2 separate regions of the Homo sapiens genome follow, and region 1 is linked to region 2. Evidence: promoter capture Hi-C in 16 types of primary human blood cells and fetal thymus (Javierre and others, 2016). All regions are on one chromosome and are shown on one strand. The core of a region is centred on a gene start or on the middle of the fragment in contact, and the rest is flanking DNA. Distances in the headings are between cores, read along the strand shown. Region 1 overlaps GATAD2B (GATA zinc finger domain containing 2B). Region 2 holds the start of CREB3L4 (cAMP responsive element binding protein 3 like 4).

Evidence for each region. Contacts are between HindIII fragments. The CHiCAGO score rates a contact against its expected background, and 5 or more counts as called.
Region 1: a fragment that was not itself captured here is called in contact with the fragment with the promoter of CREB3L4 in region 2 in 15 of 17 cell types (total B cells, naive B cells, monocytes and 12 more); the score reaches 14.5 in total B cells.

What each region holds. Positions count from the first base shown.
Region 1 is chr1:153,847,239-153,854,267 of GRCh38, reverse strand. The region is part of intron 1 of GATAD2B (GATA zinc finger domain containing 2B); the gene reads left to right. It also overlaps the pseudogene LOC645965. Among named protein-coding and RNA genes, the nearest start is that of GATAD2B, 72 kb to the left of the region's middle. The HindIII fragment of the contact is 1,477 bases long and covers 1,545-3,021 here.
Region 2 is chr1:153,964,266-153,969,151 of GRCh38, reverse strand. It overlaps CREB3L4 (cAMP responsive element binding protein 3 like 4), which reads right to left and starts at 1,250. Exons shown (of 10, transcript NM_001255978.2): 1 at 988-1,250; 2 at 453-630; 3 at 1-222. The coding sequence starts at 626. It also overlaps a transcript of SLC39A1 not described here. RefSeq lists enhancers at 984-1,103, 1,134-1,243, 1,454-1,673, 1,108-1,964, 4,828-4,886 and a silencer at 992-1,493. The HindIII fragment of the contact is 4,469 bases long and covers 189-4,657 here.

The DNA.
Region 1 (7,029 bases), core at 1,034-3,533, 120 kb after region 2:
CCAAGCCCAGCTAATTTTTTTGTATTTTTAGTAGAGACGGGGTTTTACCATGTTAGCCAGGACGGTCTCGATCTCCTGACCTCACGATCCGCCCGTTTCAGCCTCCCAAAGTGCTGGGATTACAGGTGTGAGCCACCGTGCCTGGCCTAAAGGCTTCGTTTTAATGTCCATGAGCCTTAGGCCTGTATGGAACAGAGTTAGAAATGCAAATCTCTATATAAAGCAGGGAGCCTTGAAGGTTCATACTCAAGAGAAAGGAAGGGACCACAGAAAATTCCATCTACTAGTTTGAGGAAACAAGGAAACTTCTGTGTCTCAGCTTGGGCTCTGGCTGGGGGTAGATGGGAATGTCTCCTGAAAATTTATGTTTGGACTCAAGAATATACAATAAGGAAAGGATCAATAGGGCAAGGATAGTCCCTCCAACAAATGTTGTTGGGAAAAGTGGATATCCACAGCAAAATAATGAAATTATCTTGTACTGTACACAAAAATCAACCCAAAATGGATTAAAGAGTTAAACATAAGACCTGAAACTATAAAACTCATAAGAAGAAAACAGGGAAAAAGCATTATGACATTGGTCTTGGCAATGATTTCGTGGATATGACATCAAAAACACAGGCAACAAAAGCAAGTGGAACTGCATCAACCTAAAAAGCTTCTGCACAGCAAACAGCAGAATGGAAAGGCAATCTACAAAATGTGAGGAAATGTTTGTGAACCATATATTTGATAAGGGGTTAATCTCCAACATATGTAAGGAACTCATACAACTCAGTAGCAAAAAATATATGTATATTAAAAAATAGGCGCTTCACTGCCGTCCGTTGATTTATTTCTCCAGGAAGAAAAATGGCATCTGTTGCAGTTGATCCACAACTGAGTGTGATGACTCGGGTGGTCAACCTGCCCTTGATGAGCTCCACATATGACCCCATGTCCTCAGCCCATGTCAGTACAAAGGACCAGTGTCCTACTTGAAGTCTGTGTGTGAGATGGCAGGGAAGGGTGTGAAGACCATCACCTCGGTGGCCATGACCAGTGTGCTCTGCCCATCATCCAGAAGCTAGAGCTGCAAATTGCAGTTGCCAATATCCGTGTCTGTAAGGGGCTAGACAGGATTGAGGAGAGACTGCCTATTCTGAATCAGCCATCAACTCAGGTTGTTGCCAATGCCAAAGGTGCTGTGACTGGGGCAAAAGATGCTGTGACGACTACTGTGACTGGGGCCAAGGATTCATCACAGGGTTGATGGACAAGACCAAAGGGGTAGTGACTGGCACTGTGGAGAAGACCCAAGTCTGTGTCAGTGGCAGCATTAACACAAGCTTAGGAAGTCAGATAATGCAGCTCATGAGCAGTGGCTTGGAACATGCGCTCACCAAATCAGAGCTCTTGGTAGGACAGTACCTCCCTCTCACTGGGGAAGAACTAGAAAAAGAAGCAAAAAAAGTTGAAGGATATGATATGGTTCAGAAGCCAAGTTGTTATGTTAGACTGGGATCCCTGTCTACCAAGCTTCACTCCCTGTCTACCAAGCTTCACTTCGTATGAGCAGGCTCTCAGCAGGGTTAAAGAAGCTAAGCAAAAAAGCCAAGAGACCATTTCTCAGCTCCGTTCTTCTGTTCACTTGATTGAATTTGCCAGGAAGAGTGTGCATAGTGCCAATCAGAAAATTCAGGATGCTCAGGATAAGCTCTAGCTCTCATGGGTGGAGTGGAAAAGGAATATTGGATACGATGATACTGATGAGTCCCACTGTGCAGAGCACATCGAGTCACGTACTCTTGCTATTGCCTGCAACCTGACTTAGCAGCTCCAGACCACATGCCACGGCCTTCTGTCCAACATCCATGATGACCACAGAACATCCAAGGTCAGGCCAAGCATATGAGGGTGATGGCAGGCGACATCTACTCAGTGTTCTGCAATGCTGCCTCCTTTGAGGAAGTGTCTGACAGCCTCCACTTCTAGCAAGGGGCAGCTGCAGAAAATGAAGGAATCTTTAGATGACTTGATGGATTTCTTGTTAACAACATGCCCCTCAACTGGCTGGTAGGTCCCTTTCACCCTCAACTGACTGAGTCTCAGAATGCTTAGGACCAAAGTGCAGAGATGGACAAGAGCAGCCAGGAGGCCCAGCGATCTGAGCACAAAACTCATTAAACTTGCCCCTGTCACCAGTGAATGATGCGGCCAGCCAGTTAACACCTTTCGTTATGTTGAAATTAACCCTGCTAGGCAACCCTAAATTGGGAAGCAAGTAGCTAGTAAAAAGGCCCTCAATTATAGTTATTTCCAGCTGGATTAAGAGCTTTAAAGTTTCTGGCTTTAGCAGATGATTTCTGTTCACCTGGTAAGAAAAGAATGCTAGGCTTGTTAGAGCCTAGCCAGAACTCACAAAAAATTCAAGTGCACTTATGTTCTCATTCTGTGGCCATTGTGTTACCCTCTGTTACTGTTTGTGTTGAATAAAAACATCTTCATGCGGGCTGGGGTAGAAACTGGTGTCTGCTCTGGTATGATCTGAGCAGGCCTCTTTACTGATTTATCTCATGATGATTGCTTGTACAACTTGATTTTAGTTTTTTATTTCTCAAATAGGAATACTACCTTTGAATTCAATATAATTCACTGTAAGATTAAAAAAAAAATGGACAAAGGACCTGAATAGACATTCTCCAAAGAAGACATAAAAGTGGCCAAGTATATGAAAAATTGCTCAACATTGCTAATCATCAGAGAAGTACACATCAAAACCACAATGAAATATCATCACTTCACACCTGTCAATGTCAAGATGGCTATTTTTTTTAAGTGGCAAGGGAGTGAAGAAATTGGAACCCTTGCACACTGTTGGTGGGAATGCAAAATGGTACAAGCGGCCACTATGGAAAACAGTATGGAGGTTCCTTGACATATTAAATATAGAACTACCAGATGGTCTAGCAATCATGCTTCTAGATATTTATCCAAAATAAAATCAGGATCCCAAAGAGTGACAACATGGATGAAGCTTGAGGACATTATGCTAAGGGAAATAATACAGTCACAGAAAGATAAATAACTATGTGAGTCTACTTATGTGAGGTATCTAGTCAGATTCATAGGTTGACAGAGTCAAATGGTGGTTGCCAAAGGCTGAGGGGGAGGAGAAATTGGGGAGTTGCTAAACAATGTATGTAAAATTAATGTCAAACGGGAAAAAGCTCTAGAGATCTGCCATACAACACTGTACCTATAGTCAACATTAATGTATTGTACACTTGAAAATTTGTTAAGAGGGTAGATCTTGTGTTAAGTGTTTTTACCACAATAAAACAAAAAAAAACTTTTTTTTTTTTGAGGTGGAGTCTTGCTCTGTCACCCAGGCTGTAGTGTAGTGGCGCGTTCCCGGCTCACTGCAACCTCCGCCTCCTAGGTTCAAGCGATTCTCCTGCCGCAGCCTCCTGAGTAGCTGAGATTATAGGCGCACACCACCACGCCTGGCTAATTTTTGTTTATTTAGTAGAGACGAAGTTTCACTATGTTGGCCAGGCTGGTCTCAAACTCCTTCACCTCAAGCAATCCGCCTGCGTAGGCCTCCCAAAGTGCTGGGATTACAGGTGTGAGCCACCGCACCTGGCCAACAAACAATTTTTTAAAAATTAAGTATGGGCTTATTAGGCTGAGCGCAGTGGCTCACACCTGTAATCCCAGCATTTTGGGAGGCTGATGTGGGCGGATCACTTGAGGTCAGGAGTTCGAGACCACCCTCGCCAACATAGTGATACCTGGTCTCTACTGAAAATACAAAAATTAGCTGGGTATGGTGGCGGATGCCTGTAATCCCAGCTACTCAGGAGGCTGAGGCAGGAGGATCACTTGAACCCGGGAGGTGAAGGCTGCAGTGAGCCAAGTTTGTGCCACTGCATTGCAGCCTGGGCAACAGAGTGAGACTCTGTCCTAAAAAGGAAAAATAATTAAGTATGGGCTTATTTGTGTGGGTTTAAATTATTATCACCAGCTTGGTCTGAGATCCCCAAACTGGGAAATGAATATAAAAAAATTATTCAGGACCCTGTATAATACCCTTGGGGTAACCAGCGGAAGCATATGTAAAGCTACTCTGGAGGAACAGATCCACAGTTTAAGCCACACAGGATTCTAACAGATAAAATCCCACTGAATAACCCACTTGATTGTGACAAGGCTCATAATCAAAAGTGACAAAAAATAAGAAAACAGCTCATTTACCATGAATAAGAGTCACAGATACACTACCTCTCAGGACTAGATCTCCAGTTCATTGACTATAGACCATAGAATAAGTGCATTTAAAAGGATTAAATACAGCCAGGCATGGTAGCTCATGCCTGTAATCCCAGCACTTTGGGAGGCCAAGCCAGGCGGATCACCTGAGGTCAGGAGTTCAAGACCAGCCTGGCCAACATGGTGAGACCTAACCTCTGCTAAAAATACAAAACATTAGCTGGGTGAGGTGGCACATGTCTGTAATCCCAGCTACTCAGGAGGCTGAGGCAGGAGAATCGCTTGAAACCGGAAGGAGGGGGTTGCAGTGAGCCAAGATCACGCCACTGTACTGCAGCCTGGGTGAAAGAGTGAAACTGTCTCAAAAAAAGAAAAAACAAGGTCAAATTTAAAATATATTTGGAAGGTAATGCTGATAGAGTTTACAGATAGAATGCATGTGGGTATGAGAAAGAGGAACTAAGAATGACTCCAAGTGTTTGGTTTGAATAGTGGTGTCATTTGCTAAGATGTGTAACAGTAGGGGAAGAAACAATTTTGGACATAAGATTATAAAATGCCTGTTAGATATCTGCTATCTTGTGAATGTTTGTCCCTCCAAAATTCATGTTGAAATTTAATTGACATTGTAATAATATTAAGAAGTGGGACCTTTAAGAAGTGATTAAGTTGTTAGGGCTTTACCCTCATGGGTGGGATTAATGTTGTTATAAAAGGGCACCCTCTCTTTGCCATCTGCTATGTTATTAGATGGCAAGAAGGTCTTCACCACATGCCAGTACCTTGATGTTAGGCTTCCCAACTTCTGGAACTGTGTGCCAATAAATAGCCAATAAACTTCTGGTCATTATAAAGTGCCCAAAGCTGGGTACGGTGACATACACCCATAGCCCCAGCTACCTGGGATGCTGAGGTGGGAGGATCATTTGAGCTCAAGGAGTTTGGCAACATGGAGAGACTCCATCTCTAAACAAAACAAAACAGAACACACACACCCACATACCCCTATATAAATTACCCAGTCTGGGGGAGGGGGGGGGTTTGTTTGTTTTTTGCTTTGTTTTGAGATGAGTCTCGCTGTTGCCCAGGCCAGAGTGCAGTGGCGCGATATTGGCTCACTGCAACCTCTGCCTCCCGGGTTCAAGCAGTTCTCTGCCTCAGCCTTCTGAGTAGCTGGGATTACAGGCACCCACCACCACACCTGGCTAATTTTTTTGTACTTTCAGTAGGGACGGGGTTTCACCATCTTGACCAGGCTGTTCTTGAACTCCTGACCTCATGATCCACCCGCCTCGGCCTCCCAAAGTGCTTGAAGTACAGGCGTTAGCCACCATGCATAATGGACTAAGACAACACCCAAATGGAGATGTTAGGCAATTGACTACATGAAGAGAGTTTCGGAGGAGAATGACAGCTAGGAATATCAATTTGAGAATTAGTATATAAATGCTATTTAAAACCATGGGAACACTTCATTTTTACAGTTAGAAGGTGGAAAGATGAGTAGAAACTAGTGAAGACTAAGAATAAAGGATCATGAGTGTAGAATAAGACCCAGAGATGTGAAGTCCCAAAAGCCAAGTGAAGAAAGCAGTTCAAGAAGGAAGGAAGATTGAGTTGATAAAATGCTGCTGAAAGTTCAAATAAGATAAGGATTGGTAAATAATTATTGGACTTGGCAACATGAAGGTAATTAGTGACCTGGAAAAAATAATCTCTTTATATTGAGGGAATAAAACCTGAACTGAAGTGGTTTTAAGCCAGAAGAAAGAGACAATGAGTATAGGTAACTCTTGAGGAATTTTGCTGTAGAAGGGTTCAGGGACATGGGGCAGTGACTGGAATACGACAGGAAGTCATGGGAAGAATTTTCTAAGGTGTAAGAAATACTATACCAAGTTGGTATGGTGAGGGGATGATTCTCAACACTGGCTAAATAATAGAACTAACTGGGGAATTTATTAAAGGATAGCTGCATGAGTTCAATGGCAGACTGATTAAATCAAATCTTTGGGAATTGGACCATGGTATCAGTATGTTTGTTTGTTTTACAGTTACTCAGATGATTCTAATATGCATCCAAAGTTGATCTGCTTTGGAGCAGATCAGTCAAATTAACTCGTTATATAAGTTAAACAGTATATCCAACACAGTTGAAAATTAGGAACAATAGAAATTACACAGAATGCAGCATAGATATATTAAAAATGGAAAATATGAAAAAAAGAGATGAGACATGGACAGTAGAATGAGATGGTCCAAGATATATCTCATAGGAGTTCTAGGGAAGGGTAGAGAAAATGGAGAGTAGCAACATTCAAAGAGATAATAGCAGAAAATTTCACAGAATTTCTAAGTATATGAATCTTCAAGGAAAAAAAAAATAGTGAATCCTGAAAGAATAACACTAAAGACAAAGATCTTATGAAAGCAGCCAAATAGATTACTGTGAAGGAATGAAAATTAGGCCGGGCTCAGTGATTCATGCCTGTAATCTCAGTGCTTTGGGAGGCCTAAAGAGGAGGATCACTTGAGTTCAGGAGTGAGGCTGCAGTAAGCTATGATTTTACCAGTGCGCTTCAGGCTGGGTGATAGAGGGAGACTCCATCTCAAAAAGATGTGGTCTTTTTTACTTATCTACAGAAGTGTGTCTAGTTTCTCAGCTGTAAGCATTCAGAGGTCAGGGACTAAATACAATAATTAAGTACAATGTTGCAAAAATACTGACATTAAAAATAGAAGTTCCAGGCCAGGCACAGTAGGTCAGACCTGTAA
Region 2 (4,886 bases), core at 1-2,500:
ATTTGGCCCAGTTTCCCCCTGCATCCTCTCCAGGGCCCCTGCCTCATAGACAACCTCATAGAGCATAGGAGAACTGGTTGCCCTGGGGGCAGGGGGACTGTCTGGATGGCAGGGGTCCTCAGAGATGCCACTGTCACTGCCAGGAGATGCTTCTGAGCAGTACACCTCATTGGGATCAATGAAAAGCTTCAAGAAATCTTCAGGCTCACTCTCTTGAAGGCCCTACAGTAGGAAAAGGTTATATATATGTGCAGGGAAGAATTTTGGAAGTCCTCCCTGACTTATGCTTCATTTTCAGTCCTTTCACTTCTTGGGCATGGAGACAGTTATTATACAACTTACGTCTATTTTGGGGGTGGTCTGTTTTCAGACCTGTCTCCAAGTGGGAGCTGAAGCCTCTTATCACAGAGTTGTGTCTCAACCCCACCCCCACTCCCACTCGTCACACTCACACAGCCACGGTCCCCACCGGACTTCCAGCCTTGCAGTCCCTGTTCCTGTAGCCTAGTTACCGGAACCTCTGGAGGGGGGCAGTGGAGTCCCAGCTCCAGGACGGATCCTGTCGAGAAGATATCCTCTGGGGGCTCCAGCCACGCGTCCAGCAGGTCAGGGATTCCGAGATCCATGCTTCTGCAGGAAGGCGTGTGGGACGGAGGGTTGCAGAAACGGAATGATGGCTGCTTACTACCCCCTACAGTTTCTGGGCTCCTCTGCTCCCTTTTCCATTATCCCCGCCCCCCCACTCCTTCCTCACTAGCAAGCCCCCTCACCTGTCCCCTCGATATTTCACCTTCAGCCCTATCCCTCAGGTTTAGACAAAGAGGCCCCCCCCAAGCATTACCTGTTCTGAAGAGCCCAGCCCTGTCAAGCCAGCATAGCCCGTTGACCTCCCCAAACACTACACCTTTTCTTTCTTCCAGGATCTCGTATCCTGGACCTGCCAGCCAAACCCCGCCCCCAGCCTTACACTACAAAAGTGGATGCCACCTTGCCAGGAGCCACGGTAGGGCCGCTGTATCTGGGAGTAGGGGACTAAGAGTCTGAGGGTCCACAAACGGAATTTAAGAAGTAGGTAGCCGCGCCCTTTCTGCTGCAGTTTTCTCTTAGCTATAGTAAATCTTCCTGAGGGTTTGGTGTCTCCTAGCTGAAGAACAGAAAAGGCTGTGACTGGAGCACAGGACTCCTGAATGCCTGTTCTGTAGCCCTCGCTTTTGCAAGAGGGAGATCATGGCAGGGTTGTAAACAAAGGCGGAAAGAGTCAAGAGACCTGCGAATTTACTAGGGCATCCCCTCGCCCACCGCGTGGCGCTCTTCCCAAAGCTGAGTCCTGATTGGAAGCTGAAGACTTAGGTTTCGGAGGGGCAGGACATCGAGCCAATGGCACACTACCCTCTCAAGGCCGCCTCTTCCGTAACTGGTCGGAGACAGTTTGGCTGTTCAGGAGAGTCAGGCCAATGGGGCCGCAGTTCTTTCTTTTTTTTTTCTTTATTCTTATTTTTGGAGACAGGGTCTCGCTCTGTTGCCCAGGCTGGAGTGCGGTGGTGCGATCACGGTTCCATGCAGCCCCCGACCTCCCGGGCTCAGGTGATTCTCCCGCCTCAGCACCGCGAGCAGCTAGGACCACAGGCGCGAGCCACTGCGTCCGGCCGGCGGGACTTATTTGTCAGGCGGGGATTGGGTTCCGCCAGCCTAAAGGGAGGGGTAAGCGCCAGAATATGAATCGCCGGGAAGCTGGGAGAAAGCTCCGGGAAACCCTGAGCAGCCAGGTTTGTCTTCGCGCGCCACGTGACTCGGAAGCTCCGGTTTCACCCAGGCGGGGAGTCAACAGCCCGCTGACCCCAGTGGAGCGGTGATCCTCGCTCGGCAGGCGGCAGGAGCGCGATGGCGGGTTTCCCCGTCCGCAAGCCGAGCAGTGTGGCGTTAATGGAGAACAGCAGCTGTGCGCACACGCTCGCTGCACGCTGCTCATTCACGGAGGGACACGGGGCAGGAAAACTGCAACAAGTTAAAAAGCCTTTTGCGTTTGTTGTCTTATTGTTTGCATACAGTTACCGGGAACATTATGTCCCACACTTGTATAATTTACAAAACGTTTTCATAAAAATTGTTCTCTTCCTTAATCCATAACAGTTCTGAGGCACACACGGCGGGTAATATTTTGCAAATTTTACCTATGAGGAGGCAGATCCATGACTAGAAAGTAGTAATACCAAAACTCAGGGTTGATTGATTATTTTTATTTTTTTGCCTTGGTCTAATGTCTGATGGTCCAGGAATTCACTTCAAGTAAAACAATGGAGGTAAACTGATACAGGTATGGTTTTCAGTAGTATTTCAGAAAAGGGTAGCTGGGTGAGTAAAACAGTAGTTTGGAGTGTGAATCCCAGAACTCAAACTGCTACTAATTATCCTTATGAAGATTTGAACGGGCTAAGGGTAAAAACGGGAACAGGGTCTAGTCAGGCATTTCCATGTTACTCATATAATTCTTACAGCAGATGGAGCTGACAAGTTTGTTTGTTTGTTTTTCTTTTGCTCTGTGGCCCAGGCTGGAGTGCAGAGGCTCGATCTCGGCTCACTGCAAGCTCCGCCTCCCGGGTTCACGCCATTCTCCTGCCTCAGCCTCCCTAGTAGCTGGGACTACAGGCGCCCAGCTAATTTTTTTGTATTTTTAGTAGAGACAGGGTTTCACCGTGTTAGCCAGGGTGGTCTCGATCTGACCTCGTGATCCGTCCACCTCGGCCTCCCAATGTGCTGGGATTACAGGCGTGAGCCACCACGCCCGTCCGAGCTGACAAGTTTAAGTAACTTTCTCAAGGTTACCCTGTAAGTAGCTGAACCAAGATTTGGATGCTTCAGCCCATGTTCTTCACACTATCAACCCACCTTGTGGGGCTTTCTCAGATTTCTTATCTGTCTTTCCCGCTCATATCTCTCCATCCTGCTCAAGTAGTGAAGAGACAAAGCAGCCTTCCTAGATTGATGCAGAGCTCCAAGGAAAGCAAAGCTGTTCTTGTTGAGATCATTCTGAGAGCGAGAAAGGTGGTTAAATACATTTCAAAGGGCTTCCTGCGGGCTGTATGTGCAGAGATGATTTGAGTGGGGAATGTAGTTAGCTTCCGTTGATGTTAGAACTGGAAGGACCCTCTGCAGTCATCTGCTTGTTTAACTTCCTCCTTGCCCCTGATTTATCAAACTCTGGTGAGGAAAACTGACTTGCCTAAAATCATACATCAAGGTAAGGTAAAATTGAGGAGATCTATTGGGCCGGGTGTGGTGGCTCACACCTGCAGTCCCAGCACTTTGGGAGGCTGAAGCGGGTGGATCACCTGAGGTCAGGAGTTCAAGACCAGCCTGGTCAACATGGTGAAATCCCGTCTCTACTAAAAATACAAAAATTAGCCGGGCGTGGTGGCGGGCGCCTGTAATCCCAGCTACTCGGGAGGCCGAGGCGGGAGAATTGCTTGAAACCTGGGAGGCAGAAGTTGTAGTGAGCCAAGAGCATGCCACTGCATTCCAGCCTGGGCAACACAGCAAGACTCTGTCAAGAAAGAAAGGAGGAAAGAAGAAAGGAAGGAAGGAAGGAAAAAGAAAAGAAATAAAGTTGCCAAGAGATTTTAAATGTTCTCATCACAAATAAATATGTGAAGTAATGCATATGTTAATTAGCTTGATTTACCCATTCTGCAATGTACATATATTTCTTTTCTTTTTTCTTTTTTTTTGAGACGGAGTCTCGCTGTGTCGTCCAGGCTGGAGTGCAGAGGTGTGATCTTGGCTCACTGCAACCTCCGCCTCCCCGGTTCAAGCGATTCTCCTGCCTCAGCCTCCTGAGTAGCTGGGATCATAGGCATGCGCCACCACGCCTGGCTAATTTTTGTATTTTTAGTAGAGACAGGGTTTCACCATGTTGAGCAGGCTGGTCTCCAACTCCTGACCTCGTCATCTGCCCGCCTCGGCTTCCCAAAGTGCTGGGATTACAGGCGTGAGCCACCGCGCCCGGCCCAATGTACATATATTTCAAAACATCATGTTGTACACCATAAATATATACAATTATTAATCATATATGACATATGTATGTGTATAAATAAACAAATATATATATTTGACAACTATAAAGGTAGAACTTGGACCAGAATCCAGGTTTCCTGACCCCCCCAGTCATAATTCCTTGTTAATGTTACCAATTACGAATAATTTTTTTTTTTGAGACGAAGTTTCGCTGTTGTTGCCCAGGCTGGAGCGCAATGGCGCGATCTCGGCTCACTGCAATTTCCGGCTCCCGGGTTCAAGCGATTCTCCTGCCTCGGCCTCCCGAGTAGCTGGGATTACAGGCCCCCGCCACCACGCCCGGCTAATTTTTGTATATTTAGTAGAGACGGGGTTTCACCATGTTGACCAGGCTGGTCTTGAACTTCTGTCCTCAGGTGATTCATCCTCGGCCTTCCAAAGTGCTTGGATTACAGGCGTGAACCACCGCGCCCGGCCCCTTAAGAAGTCTTCACATTCCTCTTTTACTTAAGGAATTACTGGGCTTCGTTTCTGGAGCCTTGTGAGAAGCATTACACTGTCCCCCCTTTTTTTTTTCTTTTTTAAAATTAATTTTCCTGTAGGAAGCAAGATCCCATCTGTCCCTTCTTTAGGCAATGAAGCTTTTTTCACCTTTGCATAAAAGAACAGCTGAGCCCCCTTTTTAAATTTTCTTTTGTCTTACCGTCCCTTGAGGCTAGAAGAGGATTCTCAAGGCACAGAGTTGTGGGCCACAAGAATCCAGGTTGAGGAAACGGTGAAAGTCCTGAGCTGAAACAACTACCTTGGGGCATTCAAGGAACAGCAAACAGCAAACCGACCGGCGAGGGTGGCGGGAGCTGGGCTGGAAATCA